2 separate regions of the Homo sapiens genome follow, and region 2 is linked to region 1. Evidence: promoter capture Hi-C in 16 types of primary human blood cells and fetal thymus (Javierre and others, 2016). All regions are on one chromosome and are shown on one strand. The core of a region is centred on a gene start or on the middle of the fragment in contact, and the rest is flanking DNA. Distances in the headings are between cores, read along the strand shown. Region 1 holds the start of CDS1 (CDP-diacylglycerol synthase 1). Region 2 has its middle 110 kb from the start of GPAT3.

The links. The method cuts DNA at HindIII sites, captures the fragments that hold promoters and counts their contacts. A CHiCAGO score of 5 or more calls a contact.
Region 2: a fragment that was not itself captured here is called in contact with the fragment with the promoter of CDS1 in region 1 in 7 of 17 cell types (total CD4 T cells, naive CD8 T cells, naive CD4 T cells and 4 more); the score reaches 12.6 in total CD4 T cells.

Annotation. Positions count from the first base shown.
Region 1 is chr4:84,580,330-84,585,925 of GRCh38, reverse strand. It overlaps CDS1 (CDP-diacylglycerol synthase 1), which reads right to left and starts at 2,799. Exons shown (of 13, transcript NM_001263.4): 1 at 2,408-2,799. The coding sequence starts at 2,524. LOC102723338 (a long non-coding RNA gene) reads left to right here and starts at 3,705. Exons shown (of 8, transcript XR_007058460.1): 1 at 3,705-4,377. RefSeq lists silencers at 2,843-2,942, 2,983-3,192 and an enhancer at 2,053-3,006. The HindIII fragment of the contact is 8,586 bases long and covers 890-5,596 here.
Region 2 is chr4:83,639,768-83,645,944 of GRCh38, reverse strand. No RefSeq gene overlaps it. Among named protein-coding and RNA genes, the nearest start is that of GPAT3, 110 kb to the right of the region's middle. RefSeq lists an enhancer at 5,749-5,798. The HindIII fragment of the contact is 2,178 bases long and covers 1,047-3,224 here.

The sequences.
Region 1 (5,596 bases), core at 1,550-4,049:
TCTATGCTAACAATGAGCCTTGTACAGACTTCCAATAAATCTAACTCATATATGTCTCCTGCAGGGTTCCTTGAAGATGTCCCTTGTCATTTTTCAAGTACCACTCCAACATTTAACACTTGGGAACATTCCTCTGCAGGTAAGAAGTATTTTTTTCACTTGCTAATTATCTGGAGTACAGAGCCTTCTCTCAGCATAAGTCACCAGTCCGGAACAAAGGGAGTGTCATGTTAATAACACCATTATTAAAAGACTACAAAATGGCAATGCATGGGAGTGTATTATAATAGCAGAATATAATGTACCTCCTTCACTTCTTTCACTAATTCCCCAAGAGTTTTGCCTTTACTGCAACTGAACAGGGAAGGCCCTTAATGAGTTTGAATTGACCAAATATTAACCAGCCTCCAGTGTGCAAACTGATTTTAAAATAGCCCTTGACCTGGAAATACAGGTGTATTCAAATACACACCCTGATAAGAAAGGACAGACAGGGATAGAGTTCAATATCTATCAGCTTGCCAAGTCAAAAGTTCCTCATGATAAACTCTAAAAGTAGAGCAGTATTTTAGATATGGTTTGAATATGTTCATCCTTGTCTAAGAAATCTTGACAAAACAGGTTACATATAGCAAAGTCTACTTTCAGAAAACAAAATCCAGCTGGACATGTGTCAATAAAAACCAACAGTACTGCATTGATAAATAAATAAATATGCAGCGAGGTAACCTAGTCACAGATAGCTAGAGACAACAGTTCTAATGAGTCAAATCACACTACAGAAGTAGTTTCCATTTTAAATACATTATGGTGTTAAAAAAAGAAAAAACTTAATTCCGAAGGTATTTTATGCATGGCTTCCTGAACATCTTTTCTCTTAACAAAAGCTTGTTAGCTTTGTCGAGTTAAGGAAGTCAGCATAGAGAAGCTGGTATTTCCTTGATGCTAAACTATACCAGTGCTAAAAACAAAACAAAACAAATCCCAACCTAATTAATTCTATTTTGGGTCTAGTTTCCAAGGCAGTTTTCACAAAGACTATTCTCAGCCCACTGTTCCTAGTTTTGTAACTTCAACCTTCAGTAGCTGGAAATTGTTATATTTTGGGTAATTCCTTGACACTTATGTTTTATTACAGACTCATTTTATTCTACTTACTATCAAGGGTAAGGGGAAAAGTGTCACTACATTGATTCCATTGATTCTAAAGTTTTAGTACTAAGAATCACGTTTACGTTTATTTCGTGATATCATGTGATATGTTCCTATTAGGGCTTTGTAATTTGGGTTACATCAAACTCATCAACATCAACTTTCAGGTGGAATCCTCCCCAAATCAGAACTGCCAGCCAGTCTCAGCAACCACATAAACCAGAAGAAAAGGAATCAGGAAACTTAGATTCTAGTTTCAAGAGCCACGAACTTGACCTTGGGCAATCCACCTCACTTCTGTAATTCAAACTGCAATGCCTGCTTCCAAAGTATGCTTCTAGAAACAGTTTACGTGTTTTGGGTTTCTCAAATAAAATGGAATTTTCTAAACAGACGGTTTGATACAACAATCTATTCTCTGGTCCAATTTCCCAAACCATCCAGTCCATAAGATCATAAAACTGCATTTCTTCACAAGTTCTTACTTGCACCACTATATTACCAAACACGCCCGAATTCCTTTTCTAGCTTTAAACAGATAGTAATATCGCATCTACTTATTCTTAAATGTGAAAGAAGAGTAATCTATAGAAAAGGAAGTGAAAAGTCTTCATGAATTAACGTCGGGTTATATGAAATCTACTGGTAGACAGAAGAATTGCACTGTCTGTCGTGTACTCAAAAGAAGCTGGAAGATTACTATTATGTCACGTGCATGATACTCTAAAACCTCCAAAATCTATCATACTGAAAAAGGATGGAGAAAATGTAAGTGCATATGGGGCAGCGCGAGAAGCCAAGCCTCCCGCGTCAGGATCCGATGAAATGATACAGCCGACGGTGGCACGTCTCTAGTCCTTACTAACTTTGTTCCCTCTACTGAAAAGAGAGGTGAGGTGGCAGCTACTAACTGCACTGCAGCCCCTAGGAGGACAGGTTCCCTCCTGATTCCAGCGTCGGCCCCAGATCCTGAAGAAGGGACCGGAAGAGGATGAAGCTAAACTGTAAGCCGGGTTGAGTGGCCCATTTCTCCCGGGCAGCGGCCGCGGTCATCCTGGGAACCTCACCGCCACTGGGATCCCGGGTCCCGACCCCCTCTGGAGAAGGAGGAAGCAGTGCCAGGCAGGGAGGAAGGTGCACCGGCAGCGTGCAGCCTCACCTGACGCTGGACGGGCCCCACCCTTGCTCTCAAGTGTCCCGCTTCCAACCAGGACCCAGCCAGGGCGCGGCGTCCGCCTCTCTCGGCTCCACTTACTTTGTCGCTGGTGCTCTCGGTTTCGTGGTCGCCGCCGGCCGCCTCTCCCTCGCGGTGTGGCGGCGACACCGCTTCCCTGGGGCCGGGGCAGCTTCCCCGGTGCCTCAGCTCCAACATCTTCCGCTCCCGCGCTGCCGTGGCGGCCTCCTCAAGCACCCCGAAACCTGAGCTGCAAGCAGGGTTCTGCAGGCGGGGCGCCCCGCCACCTCGCAGCCGCGCCCTGGAGTCCCGCGGAGCCGCAGCCACTAACGCGGCCCCACCATAGAGCGGCCGCCGCGCCGGTCACCTCCAAAACGGCATCAACGAGAGAGCGCTCGAGGCCGCCTGCAGCGAGCGCGGCTCCGGCGGAGGTCCCGGGCAGGCTCCGGGCGCCAGGCGCGAGCAGAGAAGGCGGAGACGCGGCCTCCGGTTGCCAGGTGCGCGTCTCCACGCAGAGGCCCAGGTAGGAGGAGGAGAAGGGGCGGGGAGAAAAGGAGGACGCTTGACCCGCTTTAGCGCGGCTCTGGGCTCCCGCCGCCGCGCAGGCCCCTCCCGCCCCGCCCCCCGGAGCCGGACTCGGAGCCGGCTTGTCCCGGCCCCGCACACTTCTCCCTGCCCGGGCCTCCCGCACCAGGTCTCGCGCCGCAGGCCCCGCCCCTCTGCGCTGCACTGCGGTTCCCACAGCCCCGCCTCCCCGTGAGGTGACGTCAGGAGCCCGGCCCGCGACCCCGCCCCCGCCTCTGCGTGCTGGCAGGTGGGGGCCTGAGAAAAGGTGGGAGCGGTGGGGCGGGAGGAGGCTGAGGAGCTGGGAGGCGGAGGCGGGGCCAGCGCGGGCTGGAAGTGAGCGTTGAGAACTTGCAGGCTAGTCCCTGGGCCGCTGCGAGGGCTGGAGGAGCTACTCAAAGACGCCCGCTAAATGTTAACAGCGCTCAACACTGCTGCTTCAAACGCCTCCCCGGCCTTGTCAGCTTGACACGCGCGGCGGGTCGGAGGCTCACTGGACCAGAAACTTGTCTGGCAGGACGGACTGGTTGGCCCCGCGGCATTCCAGCCCAGTGTCATCACCTTGAAAACAGGAGATGCTTTTGCCTCACTGGGCGTCCAGAGGTGCGTCGGCCAACAATTCCGATCACAACCGCAGCGCCGTCTCCCAGAAACTCAGTACTGAATCTCACAAAGGTCACCACCTAGGATCCCAACACAGTGTGAGATGCTATGGGACGCCGTTGCCCTCCAGCTAGTCTCTGAGCAGTGGTGGACCTTGGGCTGCCAAAGCGGGAACAGGAAGGGCACAAGATCTGCATTAATTCTAGTCTTAATCCTGTTAGAAGGTGATTAGTTTTCTTGACATGTATCCGCCACCCGGTCATTACTGACAAGCTAACAAATGAAAAAAAGAGAGAAACAAAGAGAAAAAAGAAAAAAGGCGGGCCTTCACACAGGACAAGGTTCAGGAGAGCACCCTTATAGAAATAGATCAACTATGTAAATTCCTCAAGGTCTTTACTGACACGGTAAAAGTAAGTAAAGTGTTGAAAATTTACTAACAAATGAGCAAAACCAAAAGTCAAATTAGGATGCATTGAAAAGCAGAACACAAAGACATCATTTTACCTCACCAAACAGATCTTTGAAGCTGTGCGGTTAGTTTGGGTTGCACGTTTTCAAAAGGATGTCGAGAAACCATAATTTGTTCCTTATGGGGTGGATAACTGAAATGACAGAGAAGATTTGAAAATAAGTCCCTACTGAACAGAGAACTATGGGGTGACTACATTAATAAATTGTCCAATTGTTTGGAGGATCGGAAATGAAGGAGTGCTTGATAGTGAAGAAGATAATCAGAATAATGGCTGAAGCCAGTAGTAGGGTTTCCATCTCTGGCTACTACCCTACCCTGCATAAAGGATTAGAAGTGCTCCATTCTAACTCTCTGGAAGTCAAGAAGCCTGAGTTCTAGTGCTGCCAATGCCACTAATTGCATGGCCTTGGTAAGTTATTAACCCTCAGTGTCCTCAGCTGTAAACGGATAGTAAGGATGGCCTCTGTGGTCCCTTTTAGCTCTTAGACGATCAGAATCCAGCCTTTGCTTTCCCCCATGGTCCAAGAAAAGGAGACCTACTACACAAGGTACCTGAACAACTTCCTGTTTCCCCTTTGCCTAGTCCTCTCATGGCCTCTTTGACTTTTTCCCTTTGCTGCAGGAGGAAAAAAGAGAGTGAGAGGAGTGACAGAGGGGAACAACAGAGGACAGTAGTGCGTGATAGAAGAAACAGTATTCCCCAACCCAGGAAAAGTGGGACCAATGCAAAGACTGCCAAAATAGAATGTGAGGTTCTACTTACCTCACCTTCCTTAAGCTCTGCTCCTTCTTGTGTTTTAGCTAAGAGAGCAATTTCTTTCAATCTTCTTCATTATAGCTATTACCACTAGTTGAGTGAATAGACTGAGTCCAGACAGCAGAAACTGGCTTATTCATCTTTACAGGTCTAGCTCTTTCCACAGTGCCAAAAACCACCCTTCTATAGGTAACAATGTTTGCTGAAGAGGTGAATGAAGAAATGATGGGATGGCAAAGGTATAGCACAACAAGGGAAATTTATACAGTCATATGTTGTTTAACAGTGGGGATACATTCTTAGAAATGCATCATTGGGCAACATCACAGGGTATACTAAACCTAGATGGCATAGCCTACTGCACACCCAGGCTACATGGTATAGCCTATTACTTAGACAACTGTAACACAATGGTAAGTATTTGTGTATCTAAACATAGAAAAGGTACTATAAAAATATGGTATTATAATCTTATAGGCTACAGTGGTATATGTGGTCCATTGTTGACTGAAACATTGTTATGCAACCCATGAATGTATAGTATTTATGGTTTCTTCATTTAAAGTCTATTTTAGACTTACATAGACACTTTTCTTCATTTTCACTTTATATCAGAGAGAAGTTGATTTTAATACTTATTAAAAGTGGTTGTAGTAATGACTTTATTTTACTTAAGATACTGTACAATATACTCAACCACAACTGGCTTACGGAACTCTGTGTTCTCAGACTTTTTCTATGTCTTTTTTCTAATTTTTCCTTTTTCTTTCTTTTTTATTTTTATCTTTCGTTTTCATTCAGGGAACTTATGTTCTCTAAATTTATTGTATTTGTGTTTGGTAACACAAAATCTGGCGTGTAATGGTTTCTA
Region 2 (6,177 bases), core at 886-3,385, 940 kb after region 1:
AGAATATTATTTTGGCCATTTCACTGTGTCTTTGAGCCTTCTTCGGGCATCCTGGAAAAGGGAGTGATTATGACATTTAGGTATGATGAATGATAATCCTTTTTAAATCTATTAACTGGATTTTGATAAACATCTAAAATGACCGTAGTTCTTCCCTCTGCATTGAAAGGAGTGATGCAAGAGGAATAACCAGTGTGTTGGCAATTCTTACTTCTTGGTTGCCTCCAGACTAAACAAGGTCTTCGTATAGAGGAGCAGAGACCTTGCTACAGGAAGACCATGGAGGCAGGGAACAACCACTCCTCTCCTTGCACCACAGCTCTTGGACTGAGTTCTTTGGCTGTGATGGAAAAGAAGCAGTGTCTCTATAAGGCCTAAAAACCCCTGGCTAAAGGCTAATCTCAAAGGGAGGGCTCTGTCTTACTAAAATTTGTGGATTCCCAGTGCTTGGCAGACTGCCTGGTACACAGTAGACCCCCAGTAAGTGTTTATTAGATTCAATTGAAATATTAAGACAGCTCAGCAGTTTGTCAAGTTATAAATGCAGGAGTATGAGAATTACTTTGTGAGCTGTTTTTAAATATAGTAATTTGTGAGCATAATTGTATTTCATATGTGGTAATTCACAAAGTTAAGCCCAGCACTTCCCAGTTCATCTTAAAGCTATCTATTCAAGCAACTCTTGACTCTATAACAAAAACTATCCACTATCCATTATATCTGAATTTTTCTCAGCATATGTGCCCATCCAGAATAGTATTTCAAAACTGGAATTATCCAGGCCACACTGGAGCATATAATCAACTTGGAATTAGCCATTTTTTTCTTTTTTATTATTTCTTCCCCATATTGGCTGCAGTTGTATGAATTACAGATTTTATCTCCCTCAGACTTTTTTGCTTATGGAGTGGGGTGACTGATTTTGGTGCTTTCTCTTTTATTGCCTGTCTGACGTTAAAAATCCTATCAACCGTTCGGAAACTAATCTAATTCATTTCGAGAATAATGTTGTGAACTCTATTTACAGAATCCAAAGCCATAAAGCTTCTAATGCTACGTGAAACAGCACCCCCTACTGGCAATGTTGTCACATTACATCATCATATCCTCAGCACTGAAATCCATCTCTCTCCTGTTGAGAAACTTTGACAAGTAACTTCACAAACAGAACCTATTTAAAATACTTCAAATAGAACAAATCTCTTACTCTGTTTTACCTTCATGGAAACTATTCCTTGATAACAATTTTTGCTAAGAAAGGAAAATATGTGATCTCCCTTTTTCTAGGACCATAAAGTTGTAAAAGGCAAGTTTATTTCAAACTTAACATCAGGTGGGTCCAAACCATGCACTTCATGTCTCTGTGTTTCAGCAGTACAATTCTTTGTATAGCAAATGTACTTTCTTACAAAACACCAAAACTAGCTTTAAAAATAATTGCATATGATTTTTTCACTGTGACCATTTATTCATTCCCGACCACAGCATTCATTCAACAAGTAATTTTTTTTTTTTTTTGAGATGGAGTCTCACTCTGTTGCCCAGGCTGGAGTGCAGTGGTGTGATCTCAGCTCACTGCAACCTCTGCCTCCTGGCTTCAAGCGATTATCTTGCCTCAGCCTCCCAAGTAGATGGGATTACAGACACGTGCCACCACGCCCGACTAAAATATATATATATATATTTTGTATTTTTTGTGGAGACAGGGTTTCACCATGTTGGCCAGGCTGATCTTGAACTCCTGACCTCAAGTGATTTGCCTGCCTCTGCCTCCCAAATTGCTGGGGTTAGAGGCGTGAGCCTCTGCACCCGGCTACATTTAACAAATATTTACTGATCATCTAGGCTTGAGAATACCACAGTGAATAGCATGCATCTGGTCCCTGCCCACATAGAGCTTACAGCTGAGGTGACAGAATAAACCCATCCAATGCTGGATTTGACTAAGGAAACATCTGTGGAATCACAGAGCAAGGGTACTAGCATAGCCAACGGGAATTCAGAGAACCTTATCGCTGGCACTGTGAGTGCCCCAACCATTCCCCAGGACACACTGAAAGTTACTTGGCGCTTCAGTAGATTGTTCTCATCTTATTCTTGGTTTCCCGCATCAAACACCTGCATTTCTCTGGCCGAGGACTTCTGCTAGCGACAAAATGGGCAAGCTAAAAGTACCAGGGAATTAAGCAACCCTCAGCCAGTGAGGGACAGGAGTTGGTGGATAGACACCCTAGCTCCCTTGCCCTTCAATAGATAATTCTGAAGTGTATTCCACTCAGGCTCTTAGAAAGTCCCTGGCCAGGCACAGTGGCTCACACCTGTAATCCCAGCACTTTGGGAGGCCGAGGCGGGCGGATCATGAGGTCAGGAGTTTGAGACCAGTCTGGCCAACACAGTGAACCCTGTCTCTACTAAAAATACAAAAATTAGCAGGGTGTGGTGGTGTGTGCCTGTAATCCCAGCTACTCAAGAGGATGAGACAGGAGAATCACGTGAACCAGGAGGCAGAGGTTGCAGTGAGCTGAGATTGCGCCACTGCACTCCAGCCCAGGTGACAGTGCGAGATTCAGGACAGAAAGGAAGAAGAAAAGAAAAGAAAAGAAAAGAAAAGAGAGAGAAGGAAGGAAGGAAGGAAGGAAGGAAGGAAGGAAGGAAGGAAGGAAGGAAAGGGAAGGAAAGGAAGGAAAGGAAGGAAAGGAAAGGAAGGAAGTCCCCAGTAGAATGTGCACAATTCATTGTTAACAGGACTGCTGGGATTTCAACAGGCTTGGTAAATGACATTCATCTTTCTCACAAATGTTGTGAGGCAATTAAGAAATCCGACCAAAGAATAAGGCAGCTAGGAGAATAGATATCACATTGTTAATATTGAAAAATGAGGCTACGTCTCTAGGCAAGTAGATCACATTGCACTCAAGAATTAAACTGCTGGTCTTTTTAAATTTTTATTTATTTTTTTGAGACCTGGTTATAAGACTGGCTAATTTTTGTATTTTTCGTAGAGATGGAGTTTCACCATGTTGCCGAGGCTGGTCTCAAAATCCTGAGCTCAAGCAATCCATCTCCCTCAGCTTCCCAAAGTGCTTAGATTACAGGCGTGGGCCACCGCACCCAGCCACTGCTTATCTTTTGAATCCCAAGCACCACTGGACTGGGCAAGCCTCTGAAAAACAGGGCCTGCCTGGTGCATTTATGACAAGGATGATCAGAGTGGAATGCAAGCTTCCAGAAGACAGGCTCCTCCCAAGAGAAAAAGGGAAGAGGCTGAGCCATTTGGTCAGTTATTCCTTCCACATTCACCAGTCAGATAAGTGACGTATCTTCCAGAAAGGAGCAAGGAAGGGGCATAAAAACACCAAGGAAGGGACCTAGAGAAGACACTATGTCTGAGCCTAAGAGGAACACACATCATCCAGAAATCCTAGACTAGTGGAGCTCCCTCCACAAGAATAAAACCTCAACAGTGGGAAAAAGGGTCCCCACCACCACACACTCCATCCCATGTCAAAACTTTAAGAGAGTTTTGCTAGTCCAGTGATTCCCTCATACCACCATTCAACATAGTAAATAAAAACAACATCTTTTGTAATTTCCATACTGTCAACACTCTTTCTGAGTGACACTGGTCCCCAATTAAGACAGCAGTAATCAATTATATGAACAAACAATAATCAATTATATGAACAATAATCAAGTCTCTATAGCATTAATAAATGGATTTTAGCCATGTAGTGCCTACTTTTAAAAGGCACTTAAGAAAGGCTTCACTTTTTTCTAATTATTCTTTCAACATGTATATAGCCCTTACTATATGCTAATACGGTGACATATTTATTTAACACTCACAATGACCTTACAAGTTGAGTACTAGTACAAGTTGAGTACCACTACTTAAATGAGAAAACTAAGAAAGCTAAGACTCTTGCTGAAGGTCACAGAGCTAATAAGAGTGAAGCCAGGAGTAAACATTGGTGACTTTTCTTTTTTTTTTTGAGACAGAGTTTCGCTCTTATTGCCCAGGCTAAAGTGCAATGGCGCAATCTCGACTTACCACAACCTCCGCCTCCCAGGTTCAAGCGATTCTCCTGCCTCAGCCTCCCGAGTAGCTGAGATTACAGGCGCACCACCACCATGCCCAGCTAATTTTGTATTTTCAGTAGAGACGAGGTTTCTCCATGTTGGTCAGGCTGGTCTCAAACTCCCGACCTCAGGTGATCTGCTCGCCTCAGCCTCCCAAAGTGCTGGGATTACAGGTGTGAACCGCTGTGCCCGGCCCACCTTGGTGACACTTATGTCAAAACTCATGCTCTGAAGTACTGTCCAATCCTTCCCTCTAATCATTAAGCTAGATGTTTGTCTTAGGAGGTCATTCAATGTGTTTTAAATTAGAAATGCCAGTAGGACAACCAGTTAGTGAATAAAGCAAATGGACTCAAATATTCTGCTTCATGAGTAATTGGCCCTCAAATGCACAAACCAAAATTTGCTAGAACAAAAGTCCACATAAACTAGGAAAAGGAAGAAAACGGTTCCATCATTTTTGACAAACTGTTGCCAAGTATCTTCCAACTTAAAATTGGTCCTAATAATAACTCTAACTCTTTGAGGTTCTATTTATCCCTGTTCTCTGTATCAGTGAGATTCTCTTATTTCTATGGTTTCAATTTTCATAAATACCACCTGTAAAATACATACAATTCTGTAAAAATGGTACAAATAGAACATACATGCAATTAATACTGCAATTACAGCCCCTTACTGCTTAGTTATTTGCTCATGTCTTTAAGTTCAGAGAAATGAGGGATGTACTCCTAGCACCTAAAATGATACCTGACAAATATTAGGGGCTCATATAAACACTTACTCAAAATACTGATTTAAATGAATAAATAGCTTTCAAGTGTTTAACTCAATAAAATAAGACACTTACAGGATTTGTCTCTTTTGGAAATCTTAAAAGGTATGTTAAGTGAATCCAAAATAGATTAAATAACTGGCTTTGTGGTCAAGTTTTTTTCTTAATGGAAATAGATTATTGGACCTGGAGTAGACACTACCTCTGAACCTAAGAGGAACACACATCATCCAGAAATCCTAGACGTGGTGTTGAACACATCAATTCAATGTGTCTTTAATTCCTCTTGGGAAGAAGATGAGTTTGTACTGTGTCTACTCAGGAAAGTTACAGCATTTAGGCACTTTGGGAATTGCATGCATGGGGAGAAGGGTATGGATGTGTTCTGGTATCTCAGTAGCAGAATGCGATAGGTTGCGGTTGCTCTTTTTAGTTTGCTCATTTGCCCAGCAAGCCTTCCCACTCCCTTCCTAAGGTAACATATTCTGTCTCTTCTTCTCCACCCCCCAACCACTGAGGATGATCACCCAACTCAAGCTGGCTGTTCATGGTGTCTCATTCCCCAGAATACATGATTGGTACAAGGCTTGGCATGAGACCCAATCAGGCCAGGGTCCTTCCTTGAGATTCTTCTGCTTGTAGCTAGCTGAGTCATAATGTGGAAAATTATTCAAAATCTGGATTTCTGATAACAACCTTCCTTGAAGCAAGATGGAATAAAACCAAAGGCCCTGGTTCCTACAGCAATTCCTTCTTCTGTGAGAAAACCCCTTCTTGCCGAAGCCAGTTTGAAATAGGTTTCTGTCACCTGATGCTGAAAAAGACCTGACTAATATACTAGGTCTTTGCCATAGTAGGATAATGTAACCTCCCTTTGTGACATTGGTTCTATGGAGAAATGTATTCAAGTCTCAACAGCCCGAAAGCCGTCATGAACTTTGTAAGCAGTCTCCAGCAAGTTGAGGATGAGTTGAATTCAATGCATTCATAATGCTGACCACAAGATGGCGCCTAAGACATTCTTTCAAAGGCCACTCATGCCCTACGTAAAGAATCCTAGATTCTATTAGGTTGCAAAATCCTTCCATTCTAGATTATTCCATAAGCACTCTGGTAGTTACAATGTAGCCTTCAGAGTATCATGCACATAATGGTCTTCAGTGAATGGTCAAATCACCAAAACACTGAACAAATATGAAAAGATGATGTCTGGTCTTTTCTTACAGGATAACAAATCAACCAGCAACATGTTCAGGAAATTTAGTCAAATAAAAATGCTCTATGACAGCTGAGATCAGCAAACCCCTATTATGTATTCATTA